Regions from separate parts of the Homo sapiens genome. Here regions 1 and 3 are each linked to region 2. The links are contacts of gene promoters, found by promoter capture Hi-C in blood cells and fetal thymus (Javierre and others, 2016). All regions are on one chromosome and are shown on one strand. The core of a region is centred on a gene start or on the middle of the fragment in contact, and the rest is flanking DNA. Distances in the headings are between cores, read along the strand shown.

What was found. Contacts are between HindIII fragments. The CHiCAGO score rates a contact against its expected background, and 5 or more counts as called.
Region 1: a fragment that was not itself captured here is called in contact with the fragment with the promoter of RHO in region 2 in 1 of 17 cell types (endothelial precursors); the score reaches 5.1 in endothelial precursors.
Region 3: a contact is called between a fragment that was not itself captured here and the fragment with the promoter of RHO in region 2, in 1 of 17 cell types (M2 macrophages). The highest score is 5.1, in M2 macrophages.

The regions. Positions count from the first base shown.
Region 1 is chr3:129,410,254-129,414,302 of GRCh38, forward strand. It overlaps EFCAB12 (EF-hand calcium binding domain 12), which reads right to left. Exons shown (of 9, transcript NM_207307.3): 5 at 905-1,101. Among named protein-coding and RNA genes, the nearest start is that of SNORA7B, 15 kb to the left of the region's middle. RefSeq lists an enhancer at 530-1,030. The HindIII fragment of the contact is 4,372 bases long and covers 1-3,741 here.
Region 2 is chr3:129,525,982-129,530,180 of GRCh38, forward strand. It overlaps RHO (rhodopsin), which reads left to right and starts at 2,658. Exons shown (of 5, transcript NM_000539.3): 1 at 2,658-3,113. The coding sequence starts at 2,753. RefSeq lists a silencer at 211-411 and enhancers at 2,609-3,334, 3,335-4,060. The HindIII fragment of the contact is 8,320 bases long and covers 1,089-4,199 here.
Region 3 is chr3:129,642,636-129,647,090 of GRCh38, forward strand. No RefSeq gene overlaps it. Among named protein-coding and RNA genes, the nearest start is that of PLXND1, 38 kb to the left of the region's middle. The HindIII fragment of the contact is 3,721 bases long and covers 213-3,933 here.

The DNA of each region.
Region 1 (4,049 bases), core at 306-2,805, 120 kb before region 2:
CCTACTTTGGCCTCCCAAATTGCTAGGATTACAGGCATGAGCCACTGCACCTGGCCTGTATATAATTTTTTTTTTTTTTTTGAGACAAGATCTTGCTCTTTCCCCTCGGCTGGAGTCCAGTGGTGCGATCTTAGCTCACTTCAGTCTCAACCTCCTGGGCTCAGGCAGTCCTCTCACCTCAGCCTCCTGAGTAGCTGGGACCACAGGCACATGCCATCACCCCAGGCTAACTTTCTAAATTTTTTGTAGAGACAGGATCTCCCTATGTTGCCTAGGATGGCCTCGAACTCCTGGGCTTAAGCAGTCCTCCTACCTTGGCCTCTCAAAGCGCTGGGCTAACAGGTGCGAGACACCACTCCCAGACTATATTATATATGAATATTTATATGTAGTATTGTATTGATGTTGTCTGCCTCCCTTACCAGACTGTCAGCTTCCTAGGGGCAGGGACTGTTATGCTTACTATAACACCCGGAAGAGTGCCTGGCACATGGTAGGCTCTCAATAAATGTTTACTGGACAAGCTAATTCATGCAATCAATCCTTCCTTCACTTGCCATGTATTTCTGGAGAGTCTACCCAGTGTCAGGCCCTGTGCCAGGTGCCTGGATTCCAGCTGTGATGAAAATGCAGGCCTGGTCTAAGGATGAAAAGTCATAATTAAAGAATAGGGAGAGGGGGACGTGATAGTTTCAGAAACAGGATCTTACTACATTTTACAAAAACCTCAGGAGGCAGGTATTGTTCTTATTTTACAGATGAGGGACGTGAAGAAGGGGTGGTTGTAGAGGCGAAGACCCCCCTCCCCAGGGTTCTGCAGCCAGCGGGTGGTGCTGCTGCGGTGATCTGAACCCCAGCTGCTCCAGTCCCCAAGCCGCATGCTCTCCTTGGGCTGGCGAGGTACCTTGTGCTGTCGCTGCCGCTCGCGGTACCGCTTGCCCACTTCCTCCATCTCCTCCAGGGTCATGGGCCGCGTCTCCATCTGCGTGTCGACTGCAGGCACCGTCAGTAGGTCCACTTTGGGAAGCTGTGGGGCTGAATCCACCTCCTGCTTCTTGAGCGGACCCTTCAGGGAATCTCTGTGCTTGGCCAAGATATAATCTGGAGTCAGAGGGAAGAGATGAAGGAAGGAGGGACTAAGAGGGTGCCCAGCCACGGAACCTGCCAAGCAGTTATCCAGTGTCACCCAGCAGGCACCAGGCCACCCCTCCGCTCCCTTCCCACACGTCTGGGCAGTGCCCACCTAAGCCACCTAAGCTGTACCTTAGATGTGGCCCTCCTCTCCATCTCCACTAATGGCGTCCCTTACTGCACCAACCCCAGCCCTCTGGTTGCCATTCTCGTCCTGTCACCCTGTCTCACCAAGCAGCAAATAGGATCTTTAAAAAATATAGAGTATAGCCAGGCGCGGTGGCTCACGCCAGTAATCCCAGCACTTTGGGAGGCCGAGGAGGGCGGATCATGAAGTCAGGAGATCGAGACCATCCTGGCTAACACTGTGAAACCCCGTCTCTACTAAAAATACAAAAAATTAGCCGGGCATGGTGGCACGTGCCTGTAGTCCCAGCTATTCGGGAGGCTGAGGCAGAATTGCTTTAACCTGGGACCTGGAGGTTGCAGTGAGCCGAGATCGTGCCACTGCACTCCAGCCTGGGTGACACGGTGAGACTCCCTCTCAAAAACAAACAAACAAAAAATATAGAGCAGGGTACTTTGGGAGGCTGAGGCGAGTGGATCAGCTGAGGTCAGTAGTTCAAGACCAGCCTGACCAATATGGTGAAACCCCATCTCTACTAAAAATACAAAAATTAGCCGGGTGCAGTGGTGTGCACCTGTAGTAGTTACTTGGGAGGCTGAGACAGGAGAATTGCTTGAACCCGGGAGGTGGAGGTTGCAGTGAGAAGAGATCACACCACTGCACTCAAACCTGGATGGCAGAGCAAGACTCCATCCCCCCCCAAAAATATATATACACATATATAAAGCAGGGTGCAGTGGCACGCCTGTGGTTCTAGCTACTCAGGAAGCTGAAGTGGGAGGATTGCTTATGCCCAGGAATTTGAGGCTGCAGTAAGCTATGATCACACCTGTGAATAGCCACTTCACTCCAGCCTAGGCAACATAAGGAGACCCCATTGCATGAGTCTCCTTATGTTGGATATGTGTAGATGGATGGATAGATAGATAGATAGATAGATAGATAGATAGATAGATAGATAGATAGACAGACTGACCGACCGACCAGATCGCCTCATTCCCTTGGCTTCCCACAGCATTTAGACCAAAACCCAGAGTCCTCTCCCTGGGCTACAAGGCCCTGCTGTACCATCTGGCCTCAGCTGCCTTCCCACCTGGTCCATGGCATACCATTCACCCTTCACCCATTCCACCCAGCCACCCTGACCACCTTCTGTCTCTTGCAAGCTATCCTACCCCAGGGCCTTTGCCTTCACAGTTCTATCTGCCTAGATTGTGCTTCCCCCAAGACTAGTTCCTGTCAATCACTCAGATGTCAGCTCCAATGTCTGCTTCTCAGAGAGGCCGTCCCTGACCACCAGCCCTTTAGGTGCAAGCTCATCGAAAGCTGGGGCTTTGGCTGGCCCACTGCTGTGTTCCCAGTTTCTAGAAGTGGCACATAGTAGTTGCTCAACAAAGATTCCAATGAATGAAAGAATCCCATTGTCCCTGCCCTGGTTCAGACCTTCATCGTCTCAAGCTGAAATAATATCCTGACCTTACCACCTTCTATTGAGGCTGTGAACAAGTGGCTCAGCCTCTCTGAGCTCCAGCTTCCTCCTCGTAAAGCAGGAATAGCAATCCTGACCTCTGCGGACATAAAGGATAAACTGAGATCATTCTGCAAGAATGAAGAAGAGCTACTGCAAGAAGAACTACTGGAAGAAGGCACCCCTGCCAAGACGCTCAAACTCTTGCCTCTTTAGACAAAGTGAGAGACACCCGGACAGAGCAGGAGCACCGTCATCTGGGACAAACACCGCCACTTTAAGTTCCAGCTCCCTTTCTAGCCTCATGCATTTCAAGGAAATCACTTCTCTTCTAACTATAAGCAGCCAGAAAGAGCAGACAGTAAAACACAGACAAGACAGCTCAGGCACAGAGGGAGGTCGGGGGAAAGTCTCTTGGGTGACTGCCAAACTTCACCCTCATACAATGGGCCCCAGTAAAACTGTGGGCCTTAATAAGCACATTCCTTTCCCTTCAGGTGCACTAAGATAGGGAAGCTAAAAGCAGACTTGGGGGATATGCCTGCAGCTGCAGAAAGATGTATGGAAACAGACACGCAACTCTGCCTCCCAGATAAACACAACAAAGAGACAGAGAAGCAGTCCAAGCCTCTGATAAACTCTTCCACTGTGAATCCTTAAAAACTCTTAGTCTGTAAGAGAATGTGGCTCTGACCTAACTCAGCCAGCAGCCCCTCTCAGGTTTGTTTTCTCTAAAATAAACCTGTCTTTGACTATTGAGCCACCTTTCCTGTTTCTTTCCTCTTTCTTTAATTCTTACACACCCCAGTCTACCTATCTTACCCACTATTGCTCACCAGGGAAAAAGAACTCAGTGATGACGCCAAAGTAGCACCATGAGAGCAAAGGTCTGCTGCTTGGCTTTGTGTTTACTTACTGGGAAATAACAGGACCCAAAATATCTCTGCTGCGAATATGCATCACAGCACACTGTGGTCATTGAAATGACTCACAGCCAGCTACACAGATAATGATAAGCTTGGTAATTTATAACAAAAAGGCACAAAGAGTATCAGAGGGAAAGCAGCCCAACTTGAGGTGACCTTAAAAATGTGCTGGACATAAAGGAGATTACTACTGTTGGGGTGGTGACACATGCAGGAGCGACTGTTGGGGTGCTGAGCTTCCCTGAGCTCTGAGAGAGGCAGAGACCCTGCTTGGGAGGTGATAGTTTCTCTGCAGGGCAGCTGGTTGAGACTGGACATTGAAAATCTCCTGGAGGACTGAGGAATGGATGCTCTGAGCTGCCTGCTGTCCCCAAATGAGCCACTCCAGTGAGGATGC
Region 2 (4,199 bases), core at 1,408-3,907:
AGGAGGGTGGATCGCTTGAGCCAGGAGTTCAGGACCAGCCTGGGCAACATAGCGAGACTCCACCCCTACAAAAAATACAAAAACTAGTGGTGTGCACTTGTGGTCCCAGCTACTCAGGAGGCTGAGGTGAGAGGATCGCTTGAGCCCAGGAGGCAGAGGCTACAGTGAGCTATGATTGTGGCACTGCACTCCAGCCTGGGCGACAGAGACCTTGTCTCAAAACTTTTTTTTTCTTCGTCAAGCTTTACAGAATAAAGAGCACTGTCACCTCAGTGATGGCTGTTAGTTCCCCATCACCAGGGCTCCATGAGGTTGCAATTGTGAAACTCACAAAGGAGGAACCTGAGACAGAGAGGGGAAGTACTGAGATCATCTAGGTCCATTCCCCCACTCACTCGTTCATTCAACAAATATTCAGGAGCACCTTCTAGGTGCCAGGCCCTGGAGACACATCAGTGAACAAAACAGACATCATCCCACCTCTTTCCACTACAGGCCAAGCACCATGCTGGTCTCTGGGAACCCTGTTGTGAGCAAGACAGACCCAGGCTTACCCTTGTGGACTCATGTTACAGGCAGGGAGACGGGCACAAAACACAAATAAAAAGCTTCCATGCTGTCAGAAGCACTATGCAAAAAGCAAGATGCTGAGGTACTGCTAAGCTGTGTGGGATGGGGGCTCAGCCCGGCCAGGGAGGGGCCAGTTGTGGGTCAGTCTTGACCCAAGGCATCCAGGACACCCTCCTTCTGGCCATGAGGGTCCACGTCAGAATCAAACCCTCACCTTAACCTCATTAGCGTTGGGCATAATCACCAGGCCAAGCGCCTTAAACTACGAGAGGCCCCATCCCACCCGCCCTGCCTTAGCCCTGCCACGTGTGCCAAACGCTGTTAGACCCAACACCACCCAGGCCAGGTAGGGGGCTGGAGCCCAGGTGGGCTGCAGGGAAGGGGGCACTCTTCTGAGCAGACAGATCTGGGAATCCTGGGTGGGAAGAGAGACAGTGAGAGAGAGATTAAGGGATATTTCCCAGGCATCAGGGCTTTGCACTCTCAGGGGTCCTTCCGCCTGGATGTCCTTCCCCTGAAGCTTCCTCCTGTTGTTCCGTTCTCAGCTCAAGCTCCAGCTTCTCAGAGAAGCCTCCTGTGTTGGGAGTGGCTGCGACTGAACTGTCCCTACTGTTATTCGCTCTTCTATTTGTTTGTGGTCCCTGTGCCCCCTCACCCCACAAAAACACTGGCTTCTTGTGAGCAGGAGCTTGCTCTTTCGTGTACCCTGTGTGTCCCCAAGGACCAAGCACCTTGTCTGGGCCACAGTAGGTGCTCAATACACATGTTGGCTGGACAGTGGTCACTGAGCGGCCGCACGTCGGGCACTCTCAGCACTTGCACAGGCCGCCCCAGACACCCCACTTCATTCCTGGGAGGTGTCATCATGTTGCTTGGACGACGGGGAGAGGGGGACCTGCCAGTGTTGGCCTCCATTTTCCCCCAGTCATCTGCCCCCAAGGCTCTGACTACTTTCTTTCTCACGGTACATCCTGCTATTCTGGAATCGGCCCTCGTGGGGCCACCTGGTACATGGCATTTGAGGCCCTCGTGGCTGATTAGGCCTCCCCCAACAGTGCCCTGTCTGCTGCCTCCAGGGCCAGCCTCCCCTTCAGACTGGAGTCCCCTGAAGGGTTCTGCCCCTCCCCTGCTCTGGTAGCCCCCTCCATCCTCCCTCCCTCCACTCCATCTTTGGGGGCATTTGAGTCACCTTTCTACACCAGTGATCTGCCCAAGCCACTGCTCACTTTCCTCTGGATAAAGCCAGGTTCCCCGGCCTAGCGTTCAAGACCCATTACAACTGCCCCCAGCCCAGATCTTCCCCACCTAGCCACCTGGCAAACTGCTCCTTCTCTCAAAGGCCCAAACATGGCCTCCCAGACTGCAACCCCCAGGCAGTCAGGCCCTGTCTCCACAACCTCACAGCCACCCTGGACGGAATCTGCTTCTTCCCACATTTGAGTCCTCCTCAGCCCCTGAGCTCCTCTGGGCAGGGCTGTTTCTTTCCATCTTTGTATTCCCAGGGGCCTGCAAATAAATGTTTAATGAACGAACAAGAGAGTGAATTCCAATTCCATGCAACAAGGATTGGGCTCCTGGGCCCTAGGCTATGTGTCTGGCACCAGAAACGGAAGCTGCAGGTTGCAGCCCCTGCCCTCATGGAGCTCCTCCTGTCAGAGGAGTGTGGGGACTGGATGACTCCAGAGGTAACTTGTGGGGGAACGAACAGGTAAGGGGCTGTGTGACGAGATGAGAGACTGGGAGAATAAACCAGAAAGTCTCTAGCTGTCCAGAGGACATAGCACAGAGGCCCATGGTCCCTATTTCAAACCCAGGCCACCAGACTGAGCTGGGACCTTGGGACAGACAAGTCATGCAGAAGTTAGGGGACCTTCTCCTCCCTTTTCCTGGATCCTGAGTACCTCTCCTCCCTGACCTCAGGCTTCCTCCTAGTGTCACCTTGGCCCCTCTTAGAAGCCAATTAGGCCCTCAGTTTCTGCAGCGGGGATTAATATGATTATGAACACCCCCAATCTCCCAGATGCTGATTCAGCCAGGAGCTTAGGAGGGGGAGGTCACTTTATAAGGGTCTGGGGGGGTCAGAACCCAGAGTCATCCAGCTGGAGCCCTGAGTGGCTGAGCTCAGGCCTTCGCAGCATTCTTGGGTGGGAGCAGCCACGGGTCAGCCACAAGGGCCACAGCCATGAATGGCACAGAAGGCCCTAACTTCTACGTGCCCTTCTCCAATGCGACGGGTGTGGTACGCAGCCCCTTCGAGTACCCACAGTACTACCTGGCTGAGCCATGGCAGTTCTCCATGCTGGCCGCCTACATGTTTCTGCTGATCGTGCTGGGCTTCCCCATCAACTTCCTCACGCTCTACGTCACCGTCCAGCACAAGAAGCTGCGCACGCCTCTCAACTACATCCTGCTCAACCTAGCCGTGGCTGACCTCTTCATGGTCCTAGGTGGCTTCACCAGCACCCTCTACACCTCTCTGCATGGATACTTCGTCTTCGGGCCCACAGGATGCAATTTGGAGGGCTTCTTTGCCACCCTGGGCGGTATGAGCCGGGTGTGGGTGGGGTGTGCAGGAGCCCGGGAGCATGGAGGGGTCTGGGAGAGTCCCGGGCTTGGCGGTGGTGGCTGAGAGGCCTTCTCCCTTCTCCTGTCCTGTCAATGTTATCCAAAGCCCTCATATATTCAGTCAACAAACACCATTCATGGTGATAGCCGGGCTGCTGTTTGTGCAGGGCTGGCACTGAACACTGCCTTGATCTTATTTGGAGCAATATGCGCTTGTCTAATTTCACAGCAAGAAAACTGAGCTGAGGCTCAAAGAAGTCAAGCGCCCTGCTGGGGCGTCACACAGGGACGGGTGCAGAGTTGAGTTGGAAGCCCGCATCTATCTCGGGCCATGTTTGCAGCACCAAGCCTCTGTTTCCCTTGGAGCAGCTGTGCTGAGTCAGACCCAGGCTGGGCACTGAGGGAGAGCTGGGCAAGCCAGACCCCTCCTCTCTGGGGGCCCAAGCTCAGGGTGGGAAGTGGATTTTCCATTCTCCAGTCATTGGGTCTTCCCTGTGCTGGGCAATGGGCTCGGTCCCCTCTGGCATCCTCTGCCTCCCCTCTCAGCCCCTGTCCTCAGGTGCCCCTCCAGCCTCCCTGCCGCGTTCCAAGTCTCCTGGTGTTGAGAACCGCAAGCAGCCGCTCTGAAGCAGTTCCTTTTTGCTTTAGAATAATGTCTTGCATTTAACAGGAAAACAGATGGGGTGCTGCAGGGATAACAGATCCCACTTAACAGAGAGGAAAACTGAGGCAGGGAGAGGGGAAGAGACTCATTTAGGGATGTGGCCAGGCAGCAACAAGAGCCTAGGTCTCCTGGCTGTGATCCAGGAATATCTCTGCTGAGATGCAGGAGGAGACGCTAGAAGCAGCCATTGCAAAGCTGGGTGACGGGGAGAGCTTACCGCCAGCCACAAGCGTCTCTCTGCCAGCCTTGCCCTGTCTCCCCCATGTCCAGGCTGCTGCCTCGGTCCCATTCTCAGGGAATCTCTGGCCATTGTTGGGTGTTTGTTGCATTCAATAATCACAGATCACTCAGTTCTGGCCAGAAGGTGGGTGTGCCACTTACGGGTGGTTGTTCTCTGCAG
Region 3 (4,455 bases), core at 823-3,322, 120 kb after region 2:
CAGGGACACAGAGATCCAGAAGAAGTCAGATCCTTGCCTTCTCAAGATTACACAAAGTCTGAAATCCACAATTCTTGATTCCTTGCCCAACAAAATGGAATAGCAGAAATTGCATGGGCTTTAGAATCAAACTCAACCAAGTTCAAATCCTGACTTTGCCATTTACTAGTGAAACAGCTTGTCCACAAGATAAAATGCAAACAACCTTCCCAAGCTTTTGGTTTCATCTGAAAAATGGAAGTTATACCACCTCCTCTTTAGAACGGTTGAAACAATCAGAAGCATAACAAGTGGCACTGTGCCTGGCACAGAATAGGGACTCAATTAATAGCAATTTTTTAAGTTCCACTTTTTAATGAGCACCAATTCTGGGCCAGGCATTGTTTCAGGCACTTAGGACATAGCCACAAACTGACAACGTCCCTGTCACTGTGCTGGTTAAGAAATTATAAGTAAAATAGATTATCAGCCAATTATATGTGTATTCACTCGCAAAGGCTTTTTTGTTTCGTTTTGTTTTGTTTTTGAGATAGAGTCTATGTTGCCCAGGCTAGTCTTGAACTCTGGGCCTCAACCAATCCACCTGCCTTGGCCTCCCAAAGTGTTGAGATTACAGGCGTGAGCCACTGTGCCTGGCCCCATTTGCGAGTTTTTGTTCTTATGGACACGATATTCTTTTCTTGTCCCCATGGCCAGCCCATTCTCTGACACATACTGATTTTTTGGTTCCCCAAACCAACTTAAGAGCCAGGGCTGGCTGAGGATAGCCCAAATTCTGGCTACTGGGCTCTTCGTTGGTAAGAATGGGAGATGTGCTATATTCTGAAGAGAGTTAGATGAGTGACACAGGTGCCTGTCCTCTAGGAATTCTCAGTCTACTAATAATCAAGATCATGGTATAGCACTTTCTCTTGCCAGATGCTGGGCTAGGCTCTGTACAATTTTCATTTAATCCTCATAACCTTCACAACCTTCTGTTAAGGTAAAGTGGTTATTAAAATTCTTAAAAGAGGCCAGGCGCGGTGGTTCATGCCTATAATCCCAGCACTTTGGGAGGCTGAGGTGGGTGGATCACCTGAGGTCAGGAGTTCGAGACCAGCGACCAGCCTGGCCAACATGGTGAAACCCCGTCTCTACTAAAAAATACAAAAAATTAGCTCGGTGTGGTGGCACAGGCCTATAATCCCAGCTACTTGGGAGGCTGAGGCAGGAGAATCACTTGAACCTGGGAGATGGAGGTTGCAGTGAGCCAAGATCGTGCCACTGCACTCCAGCCTGGGCGACAGAGCAAGACTCTGTCAAAATAAAATGAGATGAAATAAAATAAAATAAAATACTTAAAATAAAAACTTTAGACAAGTTAAATTTAACAAAGAATGATTCATGAATTGGGCAGCCCCTAAGACCAGGACAGGTCAGTGAGAGTCTGGGGCTGCCATATGGCTAAGTAACATTTATGGACAGAAAAAGGCAAGTGGTGTATAAAAAATTGAAGTGAGGTATGCAGACCTCACTTATTCTTGTTAAACTTATTCTGGGCTTGTACCTTATTTCAACAGTTGGCTGCCTGTGGTTGACTGAAGTTCGGCTGCTGTGATTGGCGGAGACTTGGCTACTCGTTACAAGAGTAGGTTCCAATCTGCTTATGCCTGGCTAGGTTACAGTTCCCTATGTATGGAGAAACCTTTAGGCCAAACTTAAGATATGTACAGAAGCAGCTTTAGGCAAAATTTAACATAATTCATTTTCATCATGATTTGTTGCACCTTTTAATACAGTCTCGAAAACTATTGAACTGAATTCTTTCAACAGATAAAGAATATTCTCTTGAACAGCTTAAACATTCAGTAAGACAGAAGCATGAATAAATTTTGTCAAGTACTCTTGCTCTGGGATTTAAGGATTGTAATACCAAAGGTGACAGGGATTTTTTTTTTTTTTTTGAGATGGAGTCTTGCTCTGTCGCTAGGCTGGAGTGCAGTGGCGTGATCTCGGCTCACTGCAACCTCCGCCTCCCAGGTTCAAGCAATTCTCCTGCCTCAGCCTCCCAAGTAGCTGGGACTACAGGTGAGTGCCACCACGCCCAGCTAATTTTTGTACTTTTAGTAGTGACGGGGTTTCACCATGTTGGCCAGAATGGTCTCCATCTCTTGACCTCGTGATCCGCCTGCCTCGGCCTCCCAAAGTGCTGGGATTACAGGCGTGAGCCACAGCGCCTGGCCCAGGGATTTTTTTTTTTTAAAAGAACTGAACTCTGAGTTGCCTACACCCTTTTTCCACTTATCAAAAAACTGTGAAGAGCCTCTACTTACAGGATCAATAGGCAAAAGACCAAATACCTTGGACACCATTCCTCAAACACCCAACTGATTGGGATGACCTGAAAAACAGGTTTCTGGTTTCTTCTCAAAGGGCTGTAATTAAACAGAAGGCTGGGTCACCTTTCAACACCTGTAATGGCTTCTCTTGTAGTCACAAGGTAAACCTTTAGCGTGGTATTCAAGATTTCTTGCAACTTGGCCCCCACATATGATTCTCACACATTCTTTCAGGCACCCTACCAGTCACTTAAGGCTCCTTATCCATTGCTTGAACTGCTCACCTAGGCCGTTTTCACCTCTGTGGTTTTGCTAATACCTCCAATAGAAATGCCCCCTCACCTATTTCTGCTCATCATAAAGCCACCATCTTTCAGTCCAGATACCATGGCCTCCTCCGTTGAGCCTTTCCCTATTGCTCTGTTAGAATTGCTTCCTCCTCTTTGCTCCCACACGTCTTCTGCCTCTTTACCACATGTATTTCATTCTACTAAGTTCCTTTTTCCACAGCCCAGTCTTGTATAGAGTGGCTCTTAAGTGCTGCTGGCTAAATAGGAGGTACCAGCTGCTGCTGTCACCTCTGCACGTGCTCCTCCTTCTCAGCCCGCAGGGCTTCTGGCAGCGGGACATCTATGTGACCCCCAAGCCTAGAAATCCAGGGCTGGAAGAAAGCTCAAGGGGTGGCCCAAACTTGGTCTAGAGCCCCCTCTAAGGCAATCTGGAGGCAAAAGATGGTCTAGTATGATCTGTCATTAGGAACACTATCAATTCTTTTTTCACTTCTCACTGGACCTATTTTTAAGTTTTTGATATATTTAATTTAAAAAATACACAAATACATTTTCTTCAAAGAGATTCATACTTTATAGAAGCCAAGCATGAAAGTGCTGCTTAACCACTGTTCCTCCCTCTCCCTTCCCAAAATAACGGGAAAGTTTAATGCAAAGTTTTTACACATCCACATGCATATATTTACACAAATATACATATTCTCAACATAAATGGGAGACAATATATTGTTCCACAGTTGGCTTTTTAAATCTTAATGCACTGATTATACAGGAGGCTGAACAATTTTCTGGTATGCTTATTGGTCATTTTTCTTTTCTTTTTTTTTTTTTGAGACAGAGTCTCGCTCTGTCGCCCTGGCTGCTGGAGTGCAGCGACACCATCTCGGCTCACTGCAAGCTCCGCTTCCTGGGTTCACGCCATTCTCCTGCCTCAGCCTCCCGAGTAGCTGGGACTACAGGCGCCTACCACCATGCCCGGCTAATTTTTTTGTCTTTTTAGTAGAGACGGGGTTTCACCATGTTAGCCAGGATGGTCTCGATCTCCTGACCTCGTGATCCACCCGCCTCAGCCTCCCAAAGTGCTGGGATTACAGGCGTGAGCCACCGCGCCCAGCCGCTTATTGGTCATTTTTCTATAAGCTCTCTGTTTATAACTATTGCCTGTCTTTTCTATTGAGCTGTTACCAATAGGAAAGATGATTATTGATTTGTAGTCTTAAATATTGTGGACGCTCATTTTTTGTTATATATGTCGCATAGACCTATTTTCCATTGCATTAATTTACCATTTCCTAACATTAATTTTGGGCAAGCCATTTAACCCAAGCTTCAGAGTTCTTACCTAAACAATGAGGATATCTCCTGCATAAGACTGTGGGGGAGAATTGACTGATAAAACTGAATGATGTCTGGCACTCAGTAAATACTCAATAAACGTTAGCTATTCTTCACTATAGACTTGGGGCTACAAGTCAGCTAAATGTTTAGTTTGGACCATAGGATTTAAGTATATTTGAACCCTTCAGGTGAAGCATGCATTTCTAGTTGACCATACCTTCCTCTGCCTCCCCAATCTGTTTTCTACACCACAGCTTCTCAAATTTATGTCATCTGCCTTCCACTCTCTGAAGTTTTCTTTTTTTGAGACAGGGTCTCGCTCTGCCACCTAGCCTAGAGTGCAGTGGTGTAATCATAGCTCACTGTAATCTCAAACTCCTGGGCTCGAGTGATGCTATCACCTCAGCCTCCTGAGTAGCTGGGACTACAGGTGCCTGCCACCACACCTAGCTAAATTTATTTTTTGTAGAGATAGGGGTCTCACTATGTTGCCCAGGTTGGTATCAAAC